3 separate regions of the Homo sapiens genome follow, and regions 1 and 2 are each linked to region 3. The links are contacts of gene promoters, found by promoter capture Hi-C in human tissues and cell types (Jung and others, 2019). All regions are on one chromosome and are shown on one strand. The core of a region is centred on a gene start or on the middle of the fragment in contact, and the rest is flanking DNA. Distances in the headings are between cores, read along the strand shown. Region 1 overlaps AKAP1 (A-kinase anchoring protein 1). Region 2 holds the start of SCPEP1 (serine carboxypeptidase 1). Region 3 holds the start of CUEDC1 (CUE domain containing 1).

Evidence for each region. Contacts are between HindIII fragments. The study calls those that stand out against the background at their distance.
Region 1: a contact is called between a fragment that was not itself captured here and the fragment with the promoter of CUEDC1 in region 3, in 3 of the 25 tissues and cell types used here (aorta, dorsolateral prefrontal cortex and hippocampus).
Region 2: the fragment with the promoter of SCPEP1 here is called in contact with the fragment with the promoter of CUEDC1 in region 3 in 1 of the 25 tissues and cell types used here (aorta).

What each region holds. Positions count from the first base shown.
Region 1 is chr17:57,087,304-57,090,977 of GRCh38, forward strand. The region is part of intron 1 of AKAP1 (A-kinase anchoring protein 1); the gene reads left to right. Among named protein-coding and RNA genes, the nearest start is that of AKAP1, 3.9 kb to the left of the region's middle. The HindIII fragment of the contact is 3,932 bases long and covers 1-3,621 here.
Region 2 is chr17:56,976,219-56,979,571 of GRCh38, forward strand. SCPEP1 (serine carboxypeptidase 1) reads left to right here and starts at 1,913. Exons shown (of 13, transcript NM_021626.3): 1 at 1,913-2,017. The coding sequence starts at 1,942. RefSeq lists a silencer at 1,796-1,855. The HindIII fragment of the contact is 4,443 bases long and covers 133-3,353 here.
Region 3 is chr17:57,953,780-57,957,213 of GRCh38, forward strand. It overlaps CUEDC1 (CUE domain containing 1), which reads right to left and starts at 1,633. Exons shown (of 11, transcript NM_001271875.2): 1 at 1,446-1,633. RefSeq lists a silencer at 1,488-1,557. The HindIII fragment of the contact is 13,236 bases long and covers 1-3,434 here.

The DNA.
Region 1 (3,674 bases), core at 406-2,905, 870 kb before region 3:
CATCTCCCAGTTGTTTCTAGGAAATGCATTCTCACTTGGCCACTGCAGGGTGACAGTGGAGGTGTCTGTTGTAAGTGGCCTGCTCAGGTGCTGAAGTCGATATGTCTCCAGTGTAAGGTTGCTGAACATCAATATTTAAAAGCAATTTATCTTGCTGCCTGGTAACCCAAATTATTCTTGAGCTTTGGACATAGGCTGGGTTGCAGCCATATTTTAGGGGAAGGCTGGTGTTAGCCTCTACAGTATTCCCTTTTCCTGTCCTAAAGACAAATGGAGATCATATTTGTGATACTGGGGACTGTGATAGGTGCTTAAGCATTGCTCTTCCCCTCTCCTCCCTGAACAATCCCTGAGACTGACTTTGTTTCTCTTGAATTACTTGAGTGACTTGAATTCTATTAAAAGCACCCCTCTCCTTAGCCTCTGACCCAGAAGCTTGTTTGGGAGGAAAAACGAATTGGTTTCCCTAAGCTTTGCTGGCTAGCCTCCTGCTCCCAGCCTGCAACATGACTTGATTGTGTGTGCATTTCAGGGCTTTGAAGAGCAGGCAGCTTGTAGCCAATGTACCCAGAGAGCTGGCCGTAGAGTTCCCCTAGGTCACTCCTTCCTAATCTTCCCTGTGAGTCTGAATGATTGGGCCTTTCTGTAGCTTGGTCTGTTTTCCTATTGTGGGGAAGTCAGTTGTTTCAGGTATGAGTTAATACCTTCAGCTTGTCATTCTCAGGCGTTTTCTTCCACTATGGGGAGGTAGTAGATCCTGTGGGCATCTTGTCCCATTGAAATCATCTCATATACTGTTTGAGAGTTGCTCATCTTTATGGTGGGGGGTGTATTTTAGTCCTAAATCTTGCTTCTTAGGGCAAGTTCTGTTTCTTCCATGTTCCTTCCTGGTGTAATACCTCAGGCAGTTTTCACTTTTATGATCATTTAACATTAAGTTCCCATCACATGTGGCATCCCACTGAAGGAACCTCCTGGCCTTGGTACCTAATTTGAAGCTTGGGCTGTGGAAAACATCATCAGTGAGCATGTTTGAAGTAGGACAGAGTCTGGCTGGAGAAACAGGTAGTGGGGGAGCTGGGAGCTAAACTTGAGAGGATGCCTCTTTCTTGATAGTTACTGTGCTAGGTGAGTTATGAGCACACTAATCCTTTAATCCTCACACCTCTGAGAACAGTGAGGGTGAAGCTGGAGGTCATTCTGGATTGTTTCAGTGGCTGTCACACAAATTCAAATTGAGGGGTAGAGGAACTAGGAAGCGTGGGTGTGGAGTTAAAACTAGGTCCTCTGGATGGCTTTTGTGAGAAGAACCAAGGAATATTCTTAAATCCCTGGGCTTTTCTCCTAATCTTTCTGCTGCTTTCTAAGTAGATTGTTAACATTGTGTGTGTTATCATTCAGCATTCTGAGAACTAGCTTTCCAGCAATAAATAGCTTTCAAGGTGTCCTTTGCCTTAACTTTTTCATTTTACTAAATGGTGCAGCCTTGTCCACATTCTGTCCGGGTCTTCACCATCTGGTTGTTTTTCCGGCTTGGTTTGATAGTTTGCAGCAGTCAGTGGTAAACATTGTGTTCCCTGTTCTGTAATGGTGGCTGGTTGTGTTCACCGAGCCAGGTGTCACTAAGGCCCAGTTGCACTTGGGAGCAAAGAAGGGCCCTGAGGTGAGTCCTGGAAGTAAAAATATGTATAACCTAGGGCTGATGAGGCTTGTTTCACTGCTGGGCTTAGCTGACAAGAGCCTGGGACTTGCTGCAGCTCTCAGAGCTGAAACCTGGCGGTGATTCTAGGCAGGCTGGTTGGCCTTCCAGATCTTGGTTTATTCAGTGGCTAAAAGAGGTTTGGTCAAAATTATCAGTATTCAGATTATGGTCCTGGGAGCCTTGGAGTTAGACCAAACGTGCCCAGGGGCCACTGGAGTGATGTGTTTGGGCTGGGGAGCACAGCTCAATGGGTAGTACATGTCAAAGACTTAAGGGGAAAAAAAACAACTCACTGTTCATCTCAAGTTCTTAGCTCTAAGGTGTGCTACTGTTCTAAATATTTTTTATTTTTAAAGATAGCTTTATTTGCCTAAATTTGTCCTGGGTGTGGGGAGTTTAGAGCTGCCTTGTCTGTAGGGTAGCTGCTAGCTGTGTGACTAATTAAACTTTTCAAAGTATTTTTAAAAAAATTTCTTAGTGACATTAGCCACATTTCAGGTTCTCAGTGGCCTCGTGTAGCTAGTGGCTGCCGTCCTGGTCAGTACAGGTCAAGAACATTTTCCATAATCGAAGAAAGTTTTGTTGGACAGCGCCGGCCTAGAAAGTTTTTTTTTCTCCAACTCTAAAAGCTTAATTGTCTCAACTTGTAAATCTCTAAAGCATAACATGTTTGAGCTTAGTCTTCCAGAGTCCATAAACCCAACAGCTTTGGTGACAAATTATCTACTGGTTGTCTCCATGGCATACTACAAGTGAGTTCTAGTCTGCCAGTTGGGAGTGGACGAACAGTTTTGAAACAGTTTGAGTGAGGACCTTCAGAAAGGACCTGGGGACAGGAGCGTGAAGCAAAGGTCCAGATGCTAAGCCCTTAGAAAGCCCTTTTGGTTTGAAGCCGTTTATTATCATAAAGATCCCTGCTGGTTTGTCCTTGGTCTCCAAATGTCAGATGTCAACATATTGTTACTTGGTCCTTCACCCACCTGATGACTTCCTACAGATCTCAGTGCGGCCCTTCTCTTAAACGAGGTTGTGTTTTCATTCTGCTGTTTCCAGTCCACCTAAATGTTAGGGGCCATTCTTCACAGAAGGTGTTGGGGGAGAGTGGGGCCACAGCGTGGATGCTAACGTGTTCTGTTGTGGCAGGGGTGGGGAGTTCTTTGTTTCCAGATGCCCCCTCTTCTAGTCCTGGGTGTGCTTTGTTTGAACCCTGCTAGATTGACCTTTGGTATATATAATGTGAGATCTCTTTTCTTGGAGCCAGGCAGCATAAAGGACACTTACTGATGAGCACCTACTGGCATATTAGTGGCTTTTTTTTTTCTGTGTCATTTTTATTCTCTGTCAGCCCTATGAGGTTAGTACAGTGATTAGTTTGTGGGTGAAGAAACAAGATCCGAGTAGAGTAAACTGGTCCCTGGACACAGCAAGGGCTGGACTGGCTTGGACCTGGGCTGGGGCGTGCTCCCCACCTCCTCCTCTGCCCCTGCCGCCCCCCATGCTCATTGGTTGTTGCTTATTTACTGCCCCTTTATCACCACATCCTCATTCAGGAAACTAAACTGGGTTTTACAAAGATTAAAATCATTGATCCCACATATGGAGTCTGACTTAAGTGTGTTCAGCCTCGTTACAACTCTGTGAGGGAGATATTCCCTATTACAGAACATCTTCATTTTATGGGAAACTGAAGTACAGGATCCTACTCTTAACTCTCTTGTCTTTCCAAAGCCATATTTTATCATCAGAATTATGCAACCATCGGGTGCTTTTGAAATGCACAAGTAATGACTATGAATAAAAAAAGCTGTGCCTGAGGGCTCAGGGAAACTGCTCTGAAGACTGAGCTGATTGAAAAAGACAATCCTGAAGTCACTAATTTCCCGACACCTGTCAGACCTCACTTGGAGGTCACAGACCATCTCCTGGCCCTCCAAAGGCTGTCACCCAGCAGTAGCTGGCCTCCTGATTAGAG
Region 2 (3,353 bases), core at 663-3,162, 980 kb before region 3:
CCAGCATCTGGATACATTTCAAAGAAAATTGTATACATTGGTACACCTTCCCCTAAACACTTTAATATGAATATCATTAACTAGAGGTGACATTTTATTTATATTTTTTCCTTTTGAAGTCATATTAGCGTATTATAAAATGCACAATTTTTTTGTGCGTGTGTGAGATGGGGTCTTACTCTGTCACCCAGGCTGGAGTGCAGTGGCACCATCTTGGCTCACTGCAACCTCCACCTCCTGGGTTCAAGCGATTCTCATGCCTTAGCCTCCCGAGTAGTTAAGACCACAAGCAAGTGCCACCACACCCAGCTAATTTTTGTATTTTTGTAGAAATGGGGTTTCACTATGTTGGCCAGGCTGGTCTCAAACCCCCGACCTCAAGTAATCTGCCCACCTCGGCCTCCCAAAGTGCTGGGATTACAGGTGTGAGCCACCTTGCGCCCTGGGCTGTAGTGTTATTTTTGTGGCAAAAAAATTGAAACCCTAAAATTCTGACTGCAGTGGAAGGGTAAGTGTATTTCAAGCCCTAGTGATACAGACCAACTTGGAAGCTTCAGACAGGAAAAGTTTGCTAGATAGTTATTTATTTTTAACTAAGCATGTACTTTTATGTATCTCCCATATGGCATGGAACACCTGCTCACTGCAGCCTGGAGCTCCTGGGCTCAAGTGATCCTCCCACCTCAGCCTTCTGAGTAGCTTGGACAGCAGGCGCGTGTCACCACATCAGTTAATTTTTGTTATTTTTTGTAGAGAGGGGGTCTCAATATGTTGCCCAGGCATTATGGATTTTATGCATTCGGGACCATCCCATGCTTAAAGCATGACAGAACCCGGCGGCATATTTTTCTCTGCCGCAGCTTTCAGTGCAGGGGCACCTCACAGGCAGGGCGGGGTCAAGGCTCTGTCCAGACAATGGCTGCAGAGTAAAAAGCACTTCCATTTATGGGGGTCAAGGGCGAGGGGAGGGAGAAAGGAGCAGGGAAAGAGGAGAAGTGGCCACATGTACTTTGATTTGTTTTTTGCTTTTTGTTACATGTACTTTTGAAGCAGTATTTAGAAGTAGCCTCTCCTACAGCCCCTGCTGTAGCTTGTCTCCTAGCTGTGAGGTGAGTTATTCAGTACCCTCTAACGTAAAAATGACCTTCAGACAGACAGACAGACACACACACACACACACACACACACACAGAGGAAAACAGCTCTGTCATCCACTTTTTCTTCCTTTCCCGTCCCCAGACCCTCGATTCTCTCTTTAAAATGACTGCTGTGAAGATAACGTAACACAGAGTAATACTAATGACAAATTATCAAAAAAGAAAAAAAAAATAAAAATCTTTATTAGTGTTTTTTAAAATGACGTAAAAGACTATGGGAAAAAATGCCAACAATAGTTATGTATAACTTTTTTGTTCATATTTCCAAAACGTTTATAACATACATAACTTTAAAAGAAAAATAATTTAAAAAATACATATCTGAAAATGAAACCCCGCTGTTTGCCAACGACCAGCTGGCTTAATCTGACTTCGCAGATGTAGCAGTGTTGGAAAACGTCGGTTCTTTTGCTGAGGGAAGGAAGAGATGGGAGGGGTAGAAAGGGCGGTGGTTATTCCCTTTAGTATTTCGATCCGGTCACACAACCTAAATCCAACATCTGCATCAAATGTCTCCTTTCCGAAATACTCTCCCTAAAATGACAGAGAACCTGGCCAGGCGGACAGAACGGCCCCTGCGCATTTGCAGGGGTCCTGGTGGGCTTGCCGGGCAGAGGGCGTGCGGGTCTCAGCAAGCTGCCGGGTCCGCCCAGGCCCCGCCCCATGCCCATTCAGGCCCCGCCCCCGACCCGCAGGCCCCGCCCCCGACCCGCCCCGTCCGCCTCCGTCACGTGATGGGGCGCCGGGTCCAGCCTGTTGCTGATGCTGCCGTGCGGTACTTGTCATGGAGCTGGCACTGCGGCGCTCTCCCGTCCCGCGGTGGTTGCTGCTGCTGCCGCTGCTGCTGGGCCTGAACGCAGGTAGGTTCAAGCAAGAGGCGCACCAGCTGCCATGCCTCTTTTTTCTCCAGGCGTGAGAGTTTGTTACTGGGTTTGTGCTTTTGAAAACATGTCTCTTTTCCCCGGTTCTTACCTTGTGTAATTATATTGCTTTTGAATCTCACTCTTTTTTTTTTTTTTCCTTAAAAAATTCAAAGTGCTTTTTTTGTCCTTTTCTGGCTCTGGGTGGTCTGAGTGCTTCCGTTCTCTCCTACGCCTAGATAGAAGCTGTGTGCAGAAATGTATGATTTGGGGAAACTGCTGGTCAATGAGGTTTCCCCGATTCAAAGGCCATGATTGGCTGCTAAATGAGGATATAAGGTCGTTTTATTTTAAGCTGAAATCTGCGGTCAAAAGTACCCTTACATCCTACCACGAATGGGACATTTCATTGAGATAAGGCCCTTTCTTTTCTTGATCAAAACAAACAAGATAACATCTTCCCCCACAGCGATCTTTTTTGGCAAAAAACAGATTTGTGTTTAATAGGATGACTTGCAAATTGATTTTCAGCAAAACCTCTCCTAGTCTGAAGCAAGCACTGAGAATTGGAACTGGCCACAAGCTTGCCTTGTGACCTTAGGCAAGTTGTTGAACAGTTTTGTTTTCCTTTTCTAAAATGGGGATCATCTGGCCCTTAGGCGAGTGTCTGGGAGATTTTGTAAAATAAGTAGCTCTGCCAATTTTACCAGTAGTCACTGCCAGGCAAGGGAGAAGTGCCTGGGGTTAGGTCAAAAGGTACCTGCGCCTTATCTGTCATTCTCAAGGGAGCGCAGCCTTATCTGTTATTGTCAAGGACAATATAATCGTGTGTTACTTGTATATAGAACCTTATAGCTAAGTCTGTAATGTTTTAGTCATCTGTTTTGCTCCTCAGGACACTTTCTGGTTTTCTTAATCTTCATTGTTGTTTTGTTTTGAGTCAGGGTCTCACTATGTTGCCCAGGCTGGTCTGGAACTGCCTGACTCAAGTGATCTTCCTACTTCAGCATCCCAAGTAGCCCGGACTGCAGACACAGGCCACCACCCTGGCTCTTTCTTATTTACAAGACGTTGTCTCATTGTCTTCCTCTCTACTCCTGTCTCTTTAGCTGTTGGGACCAGTGTTCTTTTACTGACCAATGGGGCTTGAAATTTGAGAAGGGAGGAAATAGAAGGCAGAAAACTCCAGTCACCGAGGGGATCCCCCCCATCATCTTTTAACAACAGCCCCTCTACTTTTTTTTTTCCCAGAGTGGTTTTGGAGGAAAAAAAAAAAGATGCTATAACTTGGAAATTGTTACGTTAGCAAAAAGTGACAAAGAAAATGTATTTAGCC
Region 3 (3,434 bases), core at 383-2,882:
CTTCTATTCAAGGATGTGCCCAGGTCGGTAGCAGTATCCTGTTTCCCTTGTCCTGGCCCTTCCAGCTGCAGAAAGTGGACAGCGGGTTTCACACCCAGCCCTGCTGCACACGCTCCAGCTTCCTGGAGACCCGAGCCAGGTTTCTCCCAGCAGCACCTCTCCATCCCAGAGATGGCACCATATTCAAACTGAGGTACCAGTGGCACTGACCCCCAACAACAGAGAGGACCCAGCTTCACACTTGATCCAGCAGGGGCCCAACCACATGGTGAGATGACTTCCTCCGTGAGAGAATTCCTGGGGTCCCTCACCTCCTTCAGGCACAGCTGGCTATAAAGAAAAGGGGTGAAAGGCCCAGTACATCTCCCTGAGTCCTTTCTCCTGGGCCAGGTGGCTCAGGTGCTGCGGGATCACCCAGGGAAGGCTCATTCCTCTCGCTACAAGACGCTGACTGCGGATCAGGTGGGGAGCACGGTGGATGGTCTTCTTGTATCCTCTATCGCCTCCAGGGCATCTTGTTTCTAAACTCCCAGGGAGTCCCCTCATCTTCTACTCCACTACTCCACCAAAAAAAGGAAAATCTAAACCCTCCCTCCCCTTAAAACACATTCCGTCTCAGGAATTTAATTTCAGTGTACGTTTCTTAGAGCTAAAACTTTTTTTAAGGGGAAAAGAAATGGGCAGGGCAGTGCTGGGTGTAAGGCGACCACGCGACCGAGAAAAGGAAGAGGGAGGAATGAATAAACGCTGACACCAGCCCCCCTTGGAGCTCAGAGCCTGGGGCACAGGAGCCGGCGGGGCGGGCGAGCAGGGGCGGGGACAGCGCATTCCCAACTTTCCCTGGCCGAGCTGACGGGAGATACAGCTCCCAGGGGACCGGGAGGGACCAAAAAAGGCTGAGCCGACCTGTGACATCGGCGGGGGGCAGGAAGCGAAGCTCCCCTCCCCCTGAAAGGCGCTCGGCTCCCAGCAGGCGCCCCCGCCTGCCGTCGCCGCCCAGCCTGCGCCCCCAGGCCCGGGCACTGCGGGGAGGGGCGCCCACACAAAAGGGGGAGCGGCGGGAGAGGGGACTCGGGCGAAGCCGGCTCCGGGAGGCCTCGTCTCCCTTCCCTGCGGCGCTGGCCCGCGCCCCCCGGTCTAATCGCGCGCCCCGCTCCCGGCCCCCCAGATGCCCGCACGCCCCCCGCGCCCGGGGCCCGGGATGAGGTGGGGGCTCGGGAAGGAAGGGCGGGCGGGGACCTGCCGCACGCGGAGCTCCCGGGGAGCCGCGCCGACAGCCCCGGGAATCAAACTCGCGACGGCCCGGCCCTCCCGGCGGCGCCTGGGCAACGGGTCCCGAGAAGGTGGGGCCGCTGGGCCGGGGCCGCGGCCGGGATTGCGCGCGGGGCGCCGGCGAGGACCGCGCCCGGGGCCGGGCGGGAGCCGCGGGAGCGCGGGGGTCTTACCGGGCAGCGCCACGCGCGTCCGCTCCGCGCGGGCCGCAGGGGCCGGGCCGCGGGCCGGGCGGGGGAGGGGCTGCAATCCGCAGCGGTGGCGGCGGGGCCAGGCTCGGCGGCGGCGGCGCGGCTGGGGCGCGGGGAGGCGGAGAAAGTGAGGCGAGGCCGGCTTCCTAGCGGCGGGCGGCGAGAAATGCAGCTGTCCCTGCGCGGCTGCCGGCAGGGCCACAAGTGGGGCCGCGCGGGGAGGAGCGGGGCTGCGGGCGGGGCGGGGCGGGGGCCCGGCTGCGGCGCCCCCGGGCCCTTTCCCTATGGCCGACCCCTTTCCAGAGAGGAGGGAAGCGGACCTGGGGGTCCGGAAACCTACATGGTTGCCGGGGGTGGAGAGGGGAGCACCCAGTGAAGGCTGGAAAAATGCCCTCCGTGTACCTCCCTCCCCGGCCGCAGTGACTCCCTAGCTTGCGGGCAGGAGGGCGTGAGCGGGGTGCCTCGACCTCCCGCGCAGAGCGGGGTGCGGGGCATCCTGCCCCTCCCAGCTGCGGAGAGGGTGGGCGGAGGAGACCTGAGACCTCCGAGACTCCGCGGGGAGCTAAGAGCAGGGCTGCCCGACAGGTTCCAGGTCAGTGCCAGGAACCCAGGGTGAGGACGCACAGCTGGGGCTTGGGACACAGGTGTGGAGGAGGGGCACCTCCCTGGAATTAGGGCCCCGGAAAGGAAACCAAATCAAATGCTGAGGACACAGGAGATGGTGGGAAGGGGGAGCAAATCAAAGCTATCACTCGTCCACACCGACAGATACCACCTGCCATCTCCCATTTTCTCCTCCCCCAACCTCCCCAGCATCCCTGATCACTTCAAGGGCTGCTGAGCCCTGGGAAGATTTTCCACGGAAGAACTTGTTTAATAAATGGGAAACTGACCTTTGCTATACTTTTCCCACGTGCTTTCATTTCAGACTCCAATTTGGGAGTAGGTAGCCTAGGTCAGGTGGTGACCACCAAGCACCCTGCTACCTAGGGGATCTGAGGAGGGTGAAGAAGGCCAGATGCAAACTAAGCTCTGTCCCCAAACAACTTGCAAAGGGTCTGCACCCTCCTCCTGGAAAAGTCTGCCTTACAGACCCATTTGCCCATCTGGGCCCAGAACCCCAGGAATAGCCCCCCTCTCCCCTCCTCTGAGCGCTTGCAATTTGCTAGCCTTGCTGAGACAGATCGACACGCTCAGCCTCAGAGACAGCTGATGGTAAAAACCACAAACCAAAGTGCCCCAGACACCAATGTGTTTCCATCATTTGCATGTCAAGGGCAAGTTTCTTCAGCAAGGTGGGAAACTGGGAGGGGGAGAAACCTCAGAACCACACCCTCCTCGGGGAGGCCCAACGTTAGGTTAGCATGTTGAACGGAACTCCAGGACTGGGTTTCCAAACCCCTCTGAGGATCTCCTCTCTCCTGCTCCTCTCTCCCCACACTTCACTCCCTGGTGCATTCAATTTCCGGGGGAGGCAGGGTGCTTGAAATCCCAGAAGATGGTCTTCAGGCCCCAGGTTAAAGATTCTTAATCCGAAGGGACAGACCCATGCCTCTATACTGACTCCTGGCTCCTTTCCCAGGTTGTAACTGAGAGCTCAGGATTTGTCCGCCTGGCCAATATAGTCTAGATTATGTTATCAAGTGTATTACCTTACACTTACCCATAGTGCAGTTCATTTGTCACTTTCCTGCTTACTTGCAAGATCCCTCTGCAGTTCATTCCTGTCACCTTGGCATTTCAGGAGCAGAAAAATGCATCTGCAAACCTGGAGATTTCCATTTGCACTCGCCTATGGATTGCTCATAATTTTTTTTTTTTTGAGACGGAGTTTCGCTCTGTCACCCAGGCTGGAGTGCAGTGGCACGATCTCAACTCACTGCAACCTCCGCCTCCCAGGTTCAAGCAATTCTCCTGCCTACGCCTCCTGAGTAGCTGGGGTTACAGGTGGGTGCCACCACGCCCGGCTAG